Linked DNA regions of Homo sapiens: region 1 is linked to region 2. Evidence: promoter capture Hi-C in 16 types of primary human blood cells and fetal thymus (Javierre and others, 2016). All regions are on one chromosome and are shown on one strand. Each heading gives the region's core, a stretch centred on a gene start or on the middle of the fragment in contact. The rest is flanking DNA. Distances are from core to core; before and after follow the strand shown.

What was found. Contacts are between HindIII fragments. The CHiCAGO score rates a contact against its expected background, and 5 or more counts as called.
Region 1: a contact is called between a fragment that was not itself captured here and the fragment with the promoter of TESK2 in region 2, in 2 of 17 cell types (erythroblasts and total B cells). The highest score is 7.5, in erythroblasts.

The regions. Positions count from the first base shown.
Region 1 is chr1:45,035,488-45,038,187 of GRCh38, reverse strand. It overlaps ZSWIM5 (zinc finger SWIM-type containing 5), which reads left to right. Exons shown (of 14, transcript NM_020883.2): 9 at 1,889-2,149; 10 at 2,365-2,500. Among named protein-coding and RNA genes, the nearest start is that of UROD, 25 kb to the right of the region's middle. The HindIII fragment of the contact is 4,650 bases long and covers 1-2,700 here.
Region 2 is chr1:45,489,838-45,492,537 of GRCh38, reverse strand. It overlaps TESK2 (testis associated actin remodelling kinase 2), which reads left to right and starts at 1,375. Exons shown (of 11, transcript NM_007170.3): 1 at 1,375-1,686. RefSeq lists enhancers at 1,087-1,381, 1,668-1,717 and a silencer at 1,218-1,437. The HindIII fragment of the contact is 2,357 bases long and covers 743-2,700 here.

The sequences.
Region 1 (2,700 bases), core at 79-2,578, 450 kb after region 2:
AGAGGAGAATAATTTAATAGAGCCTCAAGACTCTATTAGAGTAGCCAAGAATAGATAGAGACAAAATTGATTCTTTTTTCTTTTATACCTTCACTTACTGTATACATATATCTACTTTAGTATTTAGCATGCTACATTACAATTTATTTACAAATAGTTCTCTCTTACTAGACTGTCAGCTACTTGAAAACAGAAATTATGACTTCTTTATCTTTGTGTTCCTAGCACTTAGTGGAGGACCTGACATTTAACAATCTTTCATAAATACTTATTAGATAGATGAGGGAGAAAAGAAAAGAAACCAAGACTTTGACTTTTAAACCGTGCTTACTTCCTGAAATTGTGCACCCACTGGTGGAGCATATGAGATAATAGTAACATAAAGGTTGCAAATGTTACAAAAGTTAAGAGTTTAACTGTAGGGATTCAGATTTCTCTGGGTAGAGATATAAGGGGTGGCCCCAAGCCAAGTGCAGGCTGCTCCTTATCTTCCCTCTGATCCCTTGCAAAGTGAATCATCATCTTTGGTCTGTTTCATCTGTACAGTGACATTTACATCTTGGAAACCTGAGTTTGCACTTGGGTTTATTCATTCACCACTAACACATAGCAATACCTAGAACAACAAGATGGTCTAATCCCTTTAAGGTGTTCACATTCTATGAAAGAGACAGAAACAAAAACAGACAATTACAGCATTACATAATGTGCTAGCAAAATATAAGATTTTATACTTCCCTAACTGGCTTAGCCAGTTCATATATTAAGAAGGAGATGGGCCGGGCGCAGTGGCTCTCGCCTGTAATCCCAGCACTTTGGGAGGCCAAGGCAGGCAGATCACCTGAGGTCAGGAGTTGGAGACCAGCCTGGCCAACATGGTGAAACCCCATCTCTACTAAAAATATAAAAATTAGCTGGGTGTGGTGGTGTGTGCCTGTAATCCCAGCTACTCAGGAGGCTGAGGCAGATGAATTGCTTGAACCCAGGAGGCGGAGGTTGCAGTAAGCCGATACCGTGCCACTGCTCTCCAGCCTGGGAGATGGAGCGAGACTCCCTCTCAAAAAAAAAAAAAAAAAAAAGGAGGTGGGGCTGGGCATGGTGGCTTATGCCTATAATCCCAGCATTTTGGGAGGCCAAGGTGGGAAAATCACTTGAGCCCAGGAGTTTGAGACCAGCCTGGGCAACATAATGAGACCCTATCTCTACAAAAAAAAATTAAAAATTATCTGGGCATGGTGGCATGTGCCTGTAGTCCCAGCTACTCAGGAAGCTGAAGTGGGAGGGTCGCTTGAGCCCAAGAGGTTGAGGCTGCATCAGTGACCCATGATTGCACCACTACACTCCCGCCTTAGCAACCAAGCAAGACTCTGTCTCCAAAAAAATTAAAAAAGAAAGAAGTGTGAATCTTTGTGGCTCTGTGTAACCTTTTTTTCAGTATATTTTCCTTACTATTCTGGGGTTCTGATTCAGCTTCCCTATGATAGCTGTTGACCAAGCTGTATCCCAAAGGTGGGAGGGAAAGACAGAAGACTAGGCCGAATACGGTGGCTCACACCTGTAATCCCAGCACATTCGGAGGCCGAGGTAGGCAGATCACCTGAGGTCAGGAGTTTGAGTCCAGCCTGGCCAACATGATGAAACCGCCCCTCTACTAAAAATACAAAAATTCGACAGGTGTTGTGGCATGCTCCTGTAATCCCAGCTACTTGGGAGGCTGAGGCAGGAAAATCGCTTGAACCGGGGAGGCGGAGGCTGCAGTGAGCTGAGATTGCACCACTGTACTCCAGCCTGGACAACAGAGCAAGACTCTGTCTCAAAAAAAAAAAAAAAAAAGAAAGAAGACTCTACCAAGCCTAACCTAAAGAATTTGGTGCCCTGTTGCCCTCAGATATGAATGAAAGCAGACCCCCTGTGTACCAGCATGTACCTGTGGCTGCAGGCTCCCCAAACAGCAGTGAGTCCTACCTGTCATTGGCCCTGGAAGTTGCACTGATGGGCCTGGGTCAACAGAGGTTAATGCCTGAAGGCCTCTACGCACAGGACAAGGTATGCCGTAATGAGGAGCAGCTCCTGAGCCAACTCCAAGAGCTGCAGCTGGACGATGAGCTAGTGCAAACACTGCAAAAACAATGCATCTTACTGCTGGAAGGTAAGTAGAAAAGAGTCTCTTGTCACGGTGTCTTTGGCCCATGACCCTGAGCTCCCCTCTCCAATAGAGTACAAGTACAGGAACATTTATGACATTAAAATGTAGTGAATGAAGGTTCCCATGATTAGCAAACATGCATGAGATACTGGGGCTCAAGTCCAGGCTGGCAGATGGAAGCATACAGATAAATAACTGGCTGGCTTATCTTCCTCCAGGAGGTCCTTTCAGCGGTCTGGGAGAAGTCATCCACCGAGAGAGTGTTCCCATGCATACCTTTGCCAAGTATTTGTTCTCAGCTCTGCTGCCTCATGATCCAGACCTGTCCTATAAATTAGCCTTACGTGCCATGAGGTGGGTAGCCCTTTCCCAGTCCAATTGCCTCCACCAAAGCAGAAGTGTCCAGTGCTCTTTTTCATTGCTTATTTCACTTTCTTTTCTTTCCCTCTTTGTCATTCTGTTGGACCCGCTACCAAGTGTACCTTAAAATGGCTCAGATATTTTTATATGATCTAGGATTCATATCTGGATTCCTTGTTGGTGACTTGGTTCCC
Region 2 (2,700 bases), core at 126-2,625:
TGTTTGCCAGGATGGTCTCGATCTTCTGACTTCGTGATCCCCCTGCCTCGGCCTCCCAAAGTGGTGGGATTACAGGCGTGATCCACTGCTCCCGGCCCTGGCCATATTTCTTAAACTTTATGGCCACCAGGAATGCATACCACTTATACTCTTCCAGGAGGATGAAAGTCTTAAGATGTCTGAAAAGGGGTCTCTAACCCCTGGGAGTGCTAATACAGTAAGGCCCATACTGCTTGCTCTTGCCCTCCTCCTGTTCTAGTCTCTTCAGTCATGAGATTATGAGCTCCTGATGTCCAGGCACATGCAAAAAGTGAAGAAATATGTGCCTTGAACAGCTGGGCAGAATTCTTAGCTGGGAGCGGTGGCTCACGCCTGTAATCCCGGCACTTTCGTAGGCCAACGTGGGCCGATCACTTGAGTCCAGGAGTTACAGACCAGCCTGGGCAACATGGTAAACCCCGTCTCTACAAAATATACAAAAAATTAGTCAGGCATGCTGGCGTGTGCCTGTAGTCCCAGCTATCCGGGGAGGCTGAGTTGGGAGGATCATCTTAATCCAGGAGTTTGAGGCTGCAAGTGAGCCATGATCGCTCCATTGCACTCCATCATCCTGGGCGACAGAGTGAGACCCTTCTAAAAAAAAAACAACCAACAAAAACAACAAAAAATCCCAACTTATTCCCCACCAGCTTTCTTTCAAAATCTGTTTTCAAGCTAGCTGAAGTGTTACCTCCTCTAAGCTTTCACTTAACCGAATCTCATAGTCATGATTAATTGCTTCCCTAGCATTTTGTTTAGCTCTACTGATTGCTCTTACTATTTCAAGTCGGTATTATTGATATATTTTTTCCTCCTCACTATACTGAAATCCTGCAGGACGCAGCATTCTTACCGCTTTTCCTTACTCAGCTATACCTTGACCAACCCGAAAGCCGCGCCAGTCTAGTCCATTTTCTATTGGCTTTATCAATTACCAATCATTTCTGTGTTTAACATTTTTATTGGTCCATCTTGTGTTTACTGCCCCGCCCTCTAAGAGGCTCCTGGACTTGGGTTTCCCCCAGGTGTATTCCCTCCTCCTCGGTTCCGCCTTTCCCACACACTGCTTCTTCTGTTTTTACCTCGACTTCCTTCCTATTGGTTCCCTTCGTCCTCCGGAGTTGGCACCTACGGCTGTTGATTGGCTTTTCTGGACGCCCATTGTGCCCACCCTCATACCACGTGGCATTCCTAGCGCTAATTGGGCAATTCCACTACCTCGTTTATCAGGAGTTGACGGTTGACTGGCTACTCTGAGGGAGGGCTTGAGGGAGGGGCGTGGCCAGCCGAGACCCCGCCCCCAACCCCCCTGCTGGGCCGGGTAGGCGTTTCAGTCTTTCGCGGCCCGGGAGCTCAGCAGAGCTACCAGCTGCCCTGTTGGCTTCGCTGGTCGGATCGTCCTCCTGGCCCCGCCAAACAGGCGGGGGGAGCGGCCCCGACTGTGGGGCCATGGCAGTAGTCTCCTCGTTCGCCGCCGCCGCTAGCCTAGCTGAGTCGCCGGCTTCTGCGCTAGGGGCTCCCACCGCCTCCGCAGGCTAAGGAGCCGCTGCCACCAACGAGCTGTGAGGGTTACTATGCTCCCTCTTTGCCGCCGTCTCCTCCTCTTGCCCGCGCAGGCACCCCTCTGGCTGCTCAGTCCTGCCTCAGGTAACGTGAAAAGAGGACGGGGGTCACAAACCCGGGCATCCTGCCTGGCCCGCGCGCGCTGCCGCTCCACCTCCTCTGCCCCGGAGCAGAGGCGCCTGCGTCCCTCCGCACCCGACGGGACCCCTCGGCTTCCCAGAGGTCCCCCTCTCAGCGGCGGCGGACGCTCCCTTCCTGGCCGCTTTCCCCTTTCCTTCTCACTTCCCTCAGGCTCCCCGCCACGTCTGCTCCCCCTTAGAACCTGGGAACCCATTAGAAGTTACCTCGCTCGCATTAGGGATCTTTCGTTTTCTCGGAAAACTCTTGTTTCAGAGACTTCCAGCTCCCCACTGAGCGCCTCCCTGCTCGCATACCCGCTCCTGCCTCAGAGATCTGGGTTCCTTCACTTGACTTCCCTCCGATACACTCTTCCCTCGAAAACGTTCACCTCTACCCAGGAAAACAATTCCCTCCCCTCAGACCCTACTGCCTTCCCCCTCTTCTTTCCTCGCTTGTCATCGTCTCCCTTCCTTTCCCCTCTCTGCTTTTTACTCTTCGCTGTGAAGAGTGGACTAAGCCAGTGTTCAGATTTCGCTACAAGCGAAATCCAGGTTTGCGTAATTTAAAAGTCTTTAAATTGTATACCTCTGAGAAGAACTTGCTGAGGAATTTGGACTTCATGCTGCATGCATGGGGAGCCGTTGAAGGTTTTGTAAGCAGGAGCTTGGTATGATTGCATTATCTTTGGTGAAAATATAGAGGAAGGATTGAAAGTGAAGACCGTGGAGGCGGAAAGGCCAGGTAGGCAGAAAACGAGTGTGCTCATCCAGGCGGGAGGGAATGGCCCGAAATTCCAAGAGGTTTCAAAATAAAGTTGAGAAGAATAGTAGAAAGTTTCTGACTTGGCTGATGGTGTGAATCGGTAGTGTTAATTGAAATAGGGAACATAGTCTCTGGTTATACCACCCTCAACGCTCCTGATCTCATCTGAAATAGGGAGCATAAAAAAGCAATTTTGAGAGAAGGTAATAAATTTGG